Linked DNA regions of Homo sapiens: region 1 is linked to region 2. Evidence: promoter capture Hi-C in 16 types of primary human blood cells and fetal thymus (Javierre and others, 2016). All regions are on one chromosome and are shown on one strand. The core of a region is centred on a gene start or on the middle of the fragment in contact, and the rest is flanking DNA. Distances in the headings are between cores, read along the strand shown.

What was found. The method cuts DNA at HindIII sites, captures the fragments that hold promoters and counts their contacts. A CHiCAGO score of 5 or more calls a contact.
Region 1: a fragment that was not itself captured here is called in contact with the fragment with the promoter of CCND1 in region 2 in 1 of 17 cell types (M1 macrophages); the score reaches 5.9 in M1 macrophages.

The regions. Positions count from the first base shown.
Region 1 is chr11:69,186,874-69,193,515 of GRCh38, reverse strand. No RefSeq gene overlaps it. Among named protein-coding and RNA genes, the nearest start is that of SMIM38, 34 kb to the right of the region's middle. The HindIII fragment of the contact is 1,109 bases long and covers 2,448-3,556 here.
Region 2 is chr11:69,636,526-69,643,230 of GRCh38, reverse strand. It overlaps CCND1 (cyclin D1), which reads right to left and starts at 2,075. Exons shown (of 5, transcript NM_053056.3): 1 at 1,720-2,075; 2 at 1-200. The coding sequence starts at 1,917. RefSeq lists silencers at 1-59, 190-249, 340-479, 5,004-5,207 and enhancers at 1,102-1,804, 3,312-4,250, 4,251-5,191. The HindIII fragment of the contact is 14,749 bases long and covers 1-6,705 here.

The DNA.
Region 1 (6,642 bases), core at 1,753-4,252, 450 kb after region 2:
GCATGGCTCCGGGTGTAATTCTCAAATGGTCCCAAGAACCCCTTCAAATATTTGAAACAGAAATCTGCGGGGAAGGTATGTGGCAAAGTTTTCAAAGCAGGCCACTCCGATCCTTTCTGCAGGATTTCCAGGCAGCCTGCCAGCCTCCCTTTCCAATTAAATGCCCCATTTGGCTGGTGGGTGGGCCTCTGGGCTGGAAGAGAGAGATGCCTGCTACCACCCCTGTCTGGACATAATTTGGGAGACAGGAGATTTCATGAGCCAGGGGAGAGAAGACACCTGAGATATGATCAGGATAGACGCATCCCCCGACCAGCTCCTCAGGAAGAAAGAGCCCCATGTGTCCACCAGCCCAAGGTCTCACACAAAGGACCCACTCTGTGAATGCCTGGGGATTGGGGGAAGTAAGAGGGGAGGAGGGACAGAGACTCCTGGCGGAGCCAAGGAGAGTGTGGACCCTTCAGCTCTGGGACACCTTGCCCAAGACAAAAAGGTGGCTCAGAGCCGTAGCTGGCCTTGGGCTATGTTGTAAACTGAGAGTCAGGAGCAGTGAAAATGCAATGATCAGAACAAATAATATTACAGAGAACTCTACCTGGCTAAGGCATCAGGACGCATCTAGGAGGAGCTGTGGGTTGACAGGGAAGCCCAGGAGGGCCTGCAAAGGAGGCTGTGGACCCCATGTGTGCACACACACATGTGCATGTGTTTGTGGAAGTTTGCACATACATGTGCAAGTTGAGACGAGCCTTTGAAGAAAAAAATAATAACGAAATGCCTATGAGCAAAGCCAGGTGCCAAGAAAAGAAGCAGAAAGGAAGATGAAAGGCAGGAGTCCCCGCCTCCCCAGCCTCCGGAAGCTTCCACGGGGCGAGAGGCCTCCTGGTGTGGCTCTCATTTTCAGAGGCCCGGCCGCCTGACCGCCGCAATGCTGGGGCCACGTGGCCGAGGGGACACATGGAGCAGGGGCCAGTGACCCAGAGGAGGTGATCTTGGCCACGATCTGATTACCAGATGGGTCCTTTCCCACTCCCTAGAAAACAGGAAATCCATCTGAAAGGCAAGACAAATCGCCGCCCCTGCCTCCCGCCCATCTGCCATGATATGTGAACATGCAGGCTGTCAGCAGCTCCAGCCCGTGATTGATTCCCGGTATTTATAGGCCGGGGTCTATTATCAGCTGTGCTATCAAAGGCTTAGCCAGGCTGGGCTGACCCCACCGGCTATTTCAATATGCCACTCCTTTGAGACAGCTCTAACTCTTTAATTCAATAGCAATACTATTTCATGTCAGTCCCAAAGAGAGAGTTTCCTGTTTTGCAAAGGATTTGTGCCTGATTTCAAGGCAAATTAAAGACAGCTTGGAAATGTCACCTGCACTCAAGGTCAAGGGCGCTACAGCCTCTACTCTCAGCCCAGGGTTTCACCTGCAAGGCTGCACCCAAGGCTCAGACACTGTTGAGAGGTAGAGAAACAGGATGCCCATCCTCATCCCAGTTTGCCACTAAAGTGCAGTGTGGGCTGGGCATGGTGGCTCATGCCTGTAATCCCAGCACTTTGGGAGGCCGAGGTGGGAGGATCACTTGAGATCAGGAGTTTGAGACCAGCCTGACCAACATGGAGAAACCCCGTCTCTACTAGAAATACAAAATTAGCCAGCCGTGATAGCGCATGCCTGTAATCCCAGCTACTCGGGAGGCTGAGACAGGAGAATTGCTTGAACCCAGGACGCGGAGGTTGCAGCTAGCCGAGATCATGCCATTGCACTCCAGTCTCGGCAACAAGAGCTAAACTCCATCTCAAAAAAAAAAAAAATGGGCCATGTGACATTGGCTACGTTGCTTGCCTTCTCTGTTTCTGTCTCTTCAGCCCTACAACCAGCTCTTCCATGCTACAACATGAAGTCTAAGCTCTTTAGCTCAGACTTCCAAGCCCCTAACAACGCTGTAGTCTCCCCTTCTCACTACCCACCACCCCAGTCACCCTGAACATCTCCCTGGTCTCAAAACCTCACCTCTGCCTGGTCTCTCTCAGCGCTATTCCTCAAGTGGCAACACTGCCCCTCACCACTACTCACTGCAGGTCAACCGCCAGCCAGGTCTTCCCCGGGCATTCTCTGCCTGCTTTTCCTAACACCCTACCGCATGGGCTGTCAGCATCCCCACTTTACAGATGGGAAGACTGAGGTGCAGAGAAATCAAGGGAGAAAGGGACAGTGCCACGAATCATGCAGGCTCTGCCCAGCTGCAGAGCCCTGAGAGCCTTCTGAGGAAGGGTCCGAGAGGCCCAGGAGACCCAGCTGCGGCTGTGAAGTCATCCTATCACAGATGGAGAGTGCTTTGTACGGCCAAGTGGCCACTTCCAGCCCAGCCGAGCAAGGGCATCACCCACAGGCACAGGCAGAACCATGGAGGAGCGCTCTGCACCCCCAGCATCACAGGGAAGCTTCCACCCATGGAGGGACCGATGGGCAATGTCCAGGTGGAAATGGGAGACGACGTCACAAGATTGCCAGGGGACATGAGCCCACATGGCTGGCGCCACCCAGGAACCCTGCCCCTGACGGCCCAGGGAGCAGTGCTGTGTAGTGGTGCCATTTTGCGCCTCTGTCTCTGCAGATGGAGACACTGAGATTCAGAAAGATCTCACCATCTTCCCAACATCACGTGGTTGAACGGGGTTGAAACTCAGCCAAGAACCCACCTTCCAGCCAGGGCTGTGTCCACTGGGAGGACCATTTATTTATTTACTTATTTATTTAGAGACAGGGTCTCACTCAGTCTCCCAGGCTGGAGGGCAGCAGTGCGATCATAGCTCACTGCAGCCTCGAACTGCCAGGCTCAAGCAATCCTCCCACCTCAGCCTCTCGAGTAGCTGGGACCACAGGCGTATGCCACCATACCAGGTTAATTTTTAATTTTTTTGTAGAGATGAAGTCTTGCTATGTTGTCCAGGCAGGTCTTGAACTCCTGGCCTCAAGCAATCCTCCCATCTCAGCCTCCCAAATTGCTGGGATTACAGGTGTGAGCCACCACACTCAGCCTGTCTGTTTTTTTCAAACTAAGTTTTCTATTAAAAACTCCATTCAATGAAAAGTTTCTTTAATACATCAATTTTATTATTATTTTGTTTATGTCTGCAAACTACTATGGTAAACAACATGAGCCCTCATGGTAGGGACCCAGGAAGGTGCTTGCATTCTTGGGCAAAGTTGTCTCACATGCCTGCCCTGGAACAGGCCGGGAAGACACCACCTTCCAAGATGCCTCTGATGTCCAGTGTCAGGTTCTACCAGGGGCAGGATGGAGTTTAGCCTCTCTCCACTGTCTTGAGACTGCCAGTCCCCAGGCAAGGCCAGAGGGGCAAACTTCAGCCATGGTAGCGGCCAGGCACCATTACTGTCCACCGGGAATCTCCATCTCCGGCCCCCGCCTTCTTTCTACCTGCCCAGGGCTAAAGGACTTTGGAGTCAGGGAGAGGAAGCCTCTGGTAGAGTTTGGGATCATGCAGCCCTGCCTTCTGGCTCTTTAGCTCGATGTTGCCCCAAACCCAAGCTTGGGCACCTGCCTCCATTCTTTCCCCCGCCTCCTGGCCTCATTCATCCAGCACTGACGAGGGCAGTCTTGGGCGCAGAGCAGTGAAGCTGTCCAATGCTGAGGAGACTTGTCACACACCCATTATAGGCCAAAGTTCATTCCAGGTATAAGTCACAACTCCCCTATGAGGCAGAAGCATTCATCTCCTTCTAGAGGTGGGAACACTGAGGGACAGAGAGGTTAAATAACCCAAGGTTACCCAAATATTGGTGCTAGAGACAGGATTCAAGCACAGGCAGTCGGCTCCAGGGCCAGTGGGTTCCTACAGCCCTGTGCTGTCTGTCAACAGTGTTCCAAAAGAGGTCGGAGGGACATCAGCTCTCAAATAAGGCAGGAGAGAAAGAGGCAAATGAAGCAAGAGATAAAATGTGGAGGGTTTGGATGGGATCCTAGGTTTTCCCTCCTGCACCCCCATCCCCAGAAAAGGAAAGAGTTGAACTAAGTGCTAGAGGCCACCTATCCCTGCAGGGAAAATGCTGTCTCCTGATGGGGCCCTACCTCCTGGGGTCTTTGCTGAACAGTCTTCATAATGATGATGACAATGAAGATGACAACAATGGTGACAATGACAATGATAATAATGACAGTGATGACGATGATGGTGGTGGTGATGATGATGATAATGATGATGATGGTAGTGGTGGTGGTGGTAATGATGATAATGATAATGGTGATTATGATGACAATGATGATGATGGTGGTGATGGTGGTGGTGGTGGTGGTGGTGATGATGATGATGACGATGATAATGGTGATGATGACAATGATGATAATGGTGATTATGACGACAATGATGATGATGGTGATTATGATGATGATGGTGATGATGATGATGGTGGTAATGATGGTGACAATGATGATGACAATGGTGGTGATGATGCTGATAACAATGATGCTGATGGCATTACTATTAAATGGCTATGACTGGGGTCCTGGCCCCCATTCCCTCTCACCTATGCAAGACCTTTCTCCTGCAGCTAGGCCCTCTTTTTCTTTGATATTATCTCCTTCTCTCATTCCCAAGAGCACATAGAGGCTGTGTCAGTTGTTATTGCTGCTACAACAAAACACCACAAACTTGGTAGCGTAAAGTAACAGACACTTATCACTCTACAGTCCCAGAGGTCAGGACAGGTCTCACAGGGCTTGAATCCAGGTTCCTTCTGGAGCCTGCGGGTGCAAATCATTTCCTTGCCTTTTCCAGCTTCTGGAGGCCACCAGCATTTCCTGGCTCGTGCCCCTTCTCCATGTTCCAAGCCAGCAACACTGCATCTTTCTGTGCCTTGCCTCCACCATCACAACTCCCTCTGATTCTCCTCTTACTCCCTCTCTTCCACTTTTAAGGACCCTGTGATGACACTGGGCCAAGCTGGATGATTCAGGATGGTCTCCCTATCTTGAGGCCTGCTGATTATTAGCCTTAATTCCATCTGTGACTTTAATTCCCCTTTGTCCTGTAACCTAACATGTTCACAAATTTCAGGGATTAGGATGAAGACATTTTTGGGGGCCACTATTCTGCCTTCCACACACAAACGGTGATATGGTTTGACTGTATGTCCACCCAAATCTCATCTTGAATTGTAATTCCCATAATTCCTGTAGCTTCCATAATTCCCACTTATCATGGGAGGGATCTGGTGGGAGGTAATTGAATCATACGGGTGGGTCTTTCCCATGCTGTTCTCGTGACTGTGAATAAGTCTCCTGAGATCTGATGGTTTTATAAAGGGGAGTTCCCCTACACATGCTGTCTTGCCTACTGCCATGTAAGACGTGATTTTGCTCCTTGTTCACCTTCAGCCATGATTGTGAGGCCTCCCCAGCCATGTGGGACTGTGAGCCAATTAAACCTCTTTCCTTCATAAATCACTCAGTCTCAGATACGTCTTTATTAGCAGCATGTGTTCTGGTTATTCTGTTTGAATAACACTGCCCCAAGATGGAGTCACTCAAAACAACAATCATCATTTGTTATCTCTCATGGCTTCTGCCGGTCAAGCAGGCACAGCGGGGATGGTTTCTCTCCACCCAGTGACATCTGGGGCCTCAGCTGGGGTGGCTCAGAGGCTAGAGACAGAACCACCTGAAGGCTCATTCACCTTCATGTCTGCCAGTTGAGGCTGATGTCAGCTGCGGGCCTGGCAAGGGCTGCTGGCCAGAACCACACATGGCCTCTCCATGTGGCTTGGGCTTCCTCACAACATGGAGGATGAATTCCAAGAAAGAGAGAGTCAAATGAAAGCCATATTGCCTTTTCAGCCCTCAACTCAGGAGCCACAGGGCGTCACTCCTGCCATATACTCTGTCAGCGTACAGGTCTGCACAAGCTCAGGGACAGGGTCACTCTTCCTCTCAAAGGGAGAGTGTCGACCTTACTTTGTAAGAAGAGCAGGTGGAATGGGAGATATACAGGGGGCATCATCTTTGGGACCTGCCATCTTCCCTAGCACCTCAGACTGAGCCTGAGCCAGGCAGAACCCTTGAATTTTTCCCCAGACATGGCGGTCCCCTTGCTAGATAATGGCATCCCCATCCTCATGGTATTTCAGGGCAAAAGTCTGGGCATTGTCTAGAGGGTGGCAGGCCATGCAGGTCAGACACTGGAGGGACCTGGGCCACGAAGCCTGGCAGTTGGAGACCCTTCTGTTGGTTCTCACTGTGGGAAGTCACGAAGACCCCGCAGATCCTGGGCAGCTGTATGACCTGGGCAAGCTGGCGGGAAGCGACAGCTCCACAGACTCCGAGACAGAGAGGCTGCAATACTCCTCCGCCCGATTGCCTCATCCCCCAAAGGGCTTTGATAAATGGAGAGATAGGCCCGCTAATTCTTGGGTGCTGCAGGGGGAGGATGTCCTGTCACCACTAAAACGGGCCCGGACTCCTTATCATGCTGTCACTCTGCAAATCACCAAAGACAGGCTTACGTCACCCCCTCAGAGGGGCTTCAGAGGGGCCTCTAATCCTAATGGATTTGCCCAAGTGGAGATAAAGAACCTTCTTGTTCCTCCCATAATGCAGTAATTCACTTTACAAATAGAGCCAA
Region 2 (6,705 bases), core at 826-3,325:
CGGATGGAGTTGTCGGTGTAGATGCACAGCTTCTCGGCCGTCAGGGGGATGGTCTCCTTCATCTTAGAGGCCACGAACATGCAAGTGGCCCCCAGCAGCTGCAGGCGGCTCTTTTTCACGGGCTCCAGCGACAGGAAGCGGTCCAGGTAGTTCATGGCCAGCGGGAAGACCTCCTCCTCGCACTTCTGTTCCTCGCAGACCTACGGAGGCACGGGGCCCGTGACCGCCGCCGCCAGGTCGCGCCGCCCCCCCGCACGCCCCCGCACCCCCCATCGCGCTTGGCAGGGCCGCCAGGTCTGGAGGGCGCCGAGGGGTCGGGGCTGGGGGCGGCAGGAGCTTCCCGTGATGCGCCCCCTCCCCCGCGCGTCCCCAGTACCCACCCTCCCCGAAACTGAAAGGGAAAGTCCCCGCGAGGCTGGCACGGTGGGGGCGGGAGCGGGCACAGCTGGGCGGCGTGCGCGGCGGCGCGGGCTGCCGGCCCCCGGGACCCTGGCCCGCCCTGGAGCTCCGTGGTCCCTCTGACTGGGGGTCGACACCAACTGGGGTGCGGGGCCGCGGAACGGGCCGCGGGGTTGGGCGCCGCGCCTGCGAGACACAAAGGTGGCGTCCCAGGCCGCCGCGCCGCATTTCCCCAGACGTCATCTTTTCAAAAAATATTTAAAAATATTAAAAAAATAACTAAGTGCATAAAAAAACCCTGAAAATGACCCTCGGGCGACCCTTTACCCAGGCCGGGGGTTGGGAGTTCGTTACAGGCTCCGGGGGGAGCCCCAGGAATTCAAACTCCGGGGCCCCCCCTTCCCCCTGGGCGCGGGCGGCGTTTCCCTCTCGCAAGGGCACCACGCCGCACTTTCAAAAATTATTTTAAAATACTTGCGGGCCCCTCAGGCGCCCACCGAAGGTCTGAAAATGTGCTCCCAGGCCCCCGGCTCGCTCGGAGAAGGTCCTCCAAGCCGATATCCCTGCAGACGGGGATCAAGCCCTGGCGTCTTGGGGGCCACGCGACCTTGCAGCTCGCCGTGCTCTCCGGCCCAGGCTGCCCGTTCGGGGCGCCCCGGGACTCGCTGCTTGAACAAAGGCCCCCCCTTCCCTAGCGGCGTCCCCCCAAAACTACCCATGCCGCGTCCCTGCGCCCCTCCCGCGGGCTCCCGGCAGCCGCGCGGCCCTTAGCTGCGGCCCCAGCGCCCGGCGGCCGCTCCCCGCCCCCACCCTGCCCCCAATTATTAATAAACACTTTTGCTTTGCAATAAAAGAGCAAAGATGGCGCATAATACTGGCACGAGCGGCCCTTGCATACGTGTCCATGGATATTAATTTAAAAATCAAATCTATGCCCCCTCCCCCCGGAGTTGGCGGCTCCCGGCCGCTGAGGCGCAGCCGGGCTGGGGCGCAGGCGGGGGACACAAAGCGCACCCAGCCTGCCAGCCCGCACCCTCGGGCCCATTGGGGTGCCCCTGGCACTGGCTTCTCCCGAAGGCACCCCTCCCGGACCCCCTTCTCCCCTCCCACGAAACGCTACTTCTAGCACCCCCACCCCCACCCCTTCCTCCTTCAGAAAATACCCGCAATTTTTATTTTGAAAATACGGATCCCTAGAAACACCACGGCAAACTTCAAAGTTCTAGCGGGAGAGAAGGGAGGGGGGTGAGTAGCAAAGAAACGTGGGTCTGGGCAACAAGTTGCAGGGAAGTCTTAAGAGAGCCGCCCGAAGCCCCGCACCTCCAGCATCCAGGTGGCGACGATCTTCCGCATGGACGGCAGGACCTCCTTCTGCACACATTTGAAGTAGGACACCGAGGGCGCGCAGGTCTCCTCCGCCTTCAGCATGGCCCGCAGCACCCGGTCGTTGAGGAGGTTGGCATCGGGGTACGCGCGGCGGATGGTTTCCACTTCGCAGCACAGGAGCTGGTGTTCCATGGCTGGGGCTCTTCCTGGGCAGCTGGGGAGGGCTGTGGGTCCTGGCTGGGTCCGCGCTCGGCTCTCGCTTCTGCTGCCCCGCGCTCCCTCGCGCTCTTCTGCCCCTCGCCGGAGCGTGCGGACTCTGCTGCTCGCTGCTACTGCGCCGACAGCCCTCTGGAGGCTCCAGGACTTTGCAACTTCAACAAAACTCCCCTGTAGTCCGTGTGACGTTACTGTTGTTAAGCAAAGATCAAAGCCCGGCAGAGAATGGGAGCGGGAGGGGGGCGGGGGCGGGCGCAGGGGGAGGGGGCGCGGGCGCCAAACGCCGGGAGCAGCGAGGGGCAGAGCCCAAAAGCCATCCCTGAGGCGCCGCGCCTGCCCTGCGGCGGAGTTGCCCCTGTAGTCCGGTTTTCATAGAAATGCAAATCGCCCCGCTGCAGCCTTTCTCCCCGCCAGGGAAGAGGGGTGCAGGGGGCCCCGTCCGCCTCGAGTGGGTCCCCCGGGATTTAGGGGGTGAGGTGGAGGTGGCTCTGCAGTAGGGGACAACTAGGAAGGCCGGCAGGCCACACGCAGCCTGGGGAGACCACGAGAAGGGGTGACTGGGGCGCGGCGACACCCCATATCCAAGCCGGCAGAATGGGCGCATTTCCAAGAACGCCACGAGGGCACCCACGGGCGGACAGACGGCCAAAGAATCTCAGCGACTGCATCTTCTTTCATTTTCATTAACACGTGTAAATTGCAAGAACTAATTTAGCATGCAAGGACGGGGAGGACCGGGCACACAACCCCTGTGCAAGTTTCATTCCGGCGCACAGGGGCGTCGTTGCAAATGCCCAAGGGGGTAACCCTAAAAGTTAAAGGGATTTCAGCTTAGCATGCGCTCGCTCAAAAAATAAAATAAAATAAATGCCCGAAAATTCCAGCAGCAGCCCAAGATGGTGGCCAGCATTTCCTTCATCTTGTCCTTCTAGCCTGGAGACTCTTCGGGCTGCCTTCCTACCTTGACCAGTCGGTCCTTGCGGGGGTCCCCAACTGCACCCCCTCCCTTCCCGTGCCGGCAATTTAACCGGGAGAAACACACCTCTGAATGGAAAGCTGAGAAACAGTGATCTCCATTCTGACTCATTTTTTTTAATTAAAAAAGAAATTAAATTGCTGGAAATATTAGTCCCCTCTGCCTGGGACAAGACCACCGAAGGTTCCTAATTGGTTTTGTTGGGGGTGTAGACGTCCCTTCACCTTTAGAATTTGCCCTGGGACTGAATTCGTGAGCGTGAGGGGGCTGGCAGGAGCCGGCATAATTCAGAACAATTATCAATTAAACAAACGAGTGTACTGATCTGATTTTTAGCAAAATCGATAGGTGTTCGTGGTTACATGAGAGGGTCCCCAATATTATCGCAAACTTAAGCAGATGTAAATTAAAATACACAGTTTTTAAAATTACAGGTTCTGTCTCTTTGGTGCATTAAAAAATAAAAGGACATTTTACTGTCTTAACTTTTGTTTTTATTTTTACAGTACCTGCCCCAAATTAAGAAAACTGTTCATTTACTTCCTTTTGAATATAGTTCAGTGTCATCAAACCACCGTACCCTCTTAACAGTAAAAGCTCAAAGAAAACTGATAGAAAAAGCCCTCTCCCCTTCGCCAGGGTGCTCACAGCAAGATGCGACCCCCCCCACCCCCACCTTTCAGGGTGAATTCCTCCCGCGCCCCCTCCCCCGCCGGGAATTAGGATTACTAATATTCCGGGTCCTGGGGGGGTAATTACCCCCGGATTCCGCATGGGGAGCGATGGGTTGCCCCAGCAGGGAGCACCTACGGTCGTGCCCCCCCCCACTCCCCGAGCACCCACAATCGCGTTGGCCCCCGCATAGCCAAGCCTCAGAGCATCAGCCCGCGCACAAGGGCGGCCCAGCTGCTTTTTCATTCATAAAATCCCGACCCGGCGGCCGCCTGGATGATTTATGGGGCCCGGAGCTATCACCCGGCCTCTCCCATCCCGTGGGGCGAGGGGCCCCGAGCCCCGCGTGCGCCCTGGCCCAGCCCGAGGCGCGAAGCGGGCCGAAGTCGGCTAGGGGCAGCAGGGCATAAAGAGGCTCGCCCACTCCGGCACAACCGGCTCTGGGTCCAGGAGGGAGCTTCACCCCCCCATCCCGGGCGCAAGACAGAGGAAACTGGAATTAGCATGAGCCAATGGGGGCGCGGCGCTGTTACTAGGCGGACCGGGCAGATCTCGACTAGGAACTTCGTTGATTTCCCGGCTCAGGGACGAGCGCAAAATTGCAAGCCCGGTTAGCGAGCGTAAAGAGCCGTCCAGGAACCCGCGGGGGAGGCGCTGGAATTTGGGGCCCGGCGCTGGAATTTGGGGCCCGGCGGGGAGCGCCAGCTGCCCAGCCCCCACCTGGGGGAACCCTGCTTGGCGGCCCCCGGGTCCCCCGAGGGGGCCAATACCTCTGGGCTTTTGAGGGTCATTGCTTCAAGAAGCGCAGAGAAAGCATTTTGATTTTATTTTTTCCAAAGAGAAAAGCAACTTTAAAAAACTTTTCGGTTGCAGTTTTACTTTACACTGTCTTCTTAAAACCCACCACGAAGCAGGAACTGCGGATTCTGGGCTCATTTAAAGTGCTCTGTTCTTATTTCTTGGTGACCATTTGGAGACAAAGGGCAAGTGGCCCAGTCGGGAGGGTAACCACGTTGTTTGAAAGAAAATCCAAAATTAACTGAAATCACCTTCACGCTTTCCTCGCCCCCTGGCCCCCGCCCCGGTGACCGCGGCCTGGGCGGATGGTCGGTCAGGAGAAAGCGAATTCCGCTGCAGGCGCGTGTTCGCCACCGTCCCTGGCTGTGGGAACCTTCATTCAGGCGGGGGAAGGGAGCGCGTTCATTCAGGAACCGGCGCGCCGCGACGCAGACCCCGGGACTCAGCGCGGCTGCGCGCCGCGGGGCTCGGGGCTTGGGTTGGGGGCGGGTGGTGCAGGGACCAGTCCCGACCTTTCGCCAGCGACCTCCCGCACCCGCTTTTCCACCAGGGCGGCTGGCGGGCGGGCGCACCCAGGTGGGGTCACCTGCAGCCGCATACCTGGCGGCGACTTGAAAGGACTTGGCTCAGGCTCCGCGAGTTTTCCATTGTTAAGCCCTTAAGTCGCCCGGGAAAACGCTTCCGAAAGCCGGCCCCTGGGCTCCGAAGGCGCTCGAGCTCCCCTTCCCCCCACACTGCTTGCTTTTGGGGTGCGCGTGGCGGCCCACGTGCTATGGCAGCTCTGCTTCGCTTACGTAGCGCCGATCCCAGGCGCCCCAAAACTGCGAGGTGGGCCGGGGCGAACTCCGGCCCCAGTGCCCACCCGAGACAGCCACACGCTCGGCACATGGACAGCCGCACCGCCCCCCCCATCGCCCCAACCGCAGACGTGCGTTTCCGCTCCAGATCAATTAGTTTCAGCCACACACAGACCACCCTGCCACCGCCCCTCCCGTGCCCCAGTCGTCTGTCCGGCGGGCTGCGGGGAAACGAGACCCCTCCCCTAGCTCCGAGGGCTGCCGGCAAGGTGTGCGCTGGAGTTAAAACGCAAACCCAACAGGTAGGGGGGCGGCCCTGGCTCCAACGACGCATCTGGGATCCCGAGGCTGAAGGCGCAACTCTTGAGGGTTAAAGGCGATTCTAATTCCTCGACTCCCGCCCCTCAAAACGCATCGGCTGGTACCCTGAGCAATATGAACCCCCAAATCCACCAGAGATTCCCTGGCCTTCCGGCCCCAGCCCCTCTCAGACCAAGTGGTGGGGAGTAGGCGCCCAGATCGAGAAGAAAACCACTTCCGACCACAGGAGAGAAAGCTGGCTGGGGGTGACCTCGGAGGTCACGTTCGGCCCTCTCCCCCGCAGTCAGGCCTGGCCGCGGCCCACCCGAGGCTGAGCAGACCCCCGCGTCGGACGGAGACGCAGGGCTTCGCTGCGGGACTCGCGGGGCCTAGGAAACCTGCGGCGGCGGCTCGCGGGAGCCGGTTTTCCGGCGGAGGATCCGCGCTGAGGCCCTCGTGGGCTCCCACGGCATGCCCCACTCCGGAACTTGCCGCGCCCTCCCCCGCCCTTTCCGGAAGACTGCGGGGAGGACCCCGCATCCCCGCGCCTCTCCAGCTCGCTCCTCAATGCCCTTGGAACGCTTGAAAGCGCTTCCATCCCTCGCTTTGGCACTTGGGGGTGGGTGGAGGGACAGCGGGGTCGTTATTACGGGGCGCCTTAGAGTTCTGGTTATCCGGACACTCAACAAGCAGGGGAGGGGAGGGAAAGGGAGTTTTTTTCCAGGTGCGGGGAAACGGGTTGCGTACCTAATGCCCCGCGCCCTTCCCCTGGGGTCCCTGGAGCCCGTGCCTTAAGGGCTGGGGGCAGGACTCGGATTCGGACCCCTTAGGGAATTCTGGGTCCTCAGGGTCTGAGGGACTGATGGGCCGCGCTCGGTCCCCAAGCCCCTTCTGTGTGTTCACGCGGGGCACGACTTGCCCAGCGAGTTCTGGGCGGCAGGGCCAGGGCCGGGGTGCGGCTGGGAGAGGTGAGGGGAGGAGGCGAGAGCGCGCGCCGCCGGACCCTGGGCCGTGGCTCGGGAACCGCGCGAGGCCGCGCCGCGCATTCCGCGCATTCCCGCCGGGCCTCGGTTCCACCGCCACGTGGTTGCCCTGCGTCCGCGTTTACCGTAAGGCTTAGAAAAAGCGCGCATTACGGTTCCGGAGCGCATGCGGACCTCCCAGGACGCTTAACTCGAGCACCAGTCCAGCTGTGGTGCCGAACATACTCCTTCCCTGCGG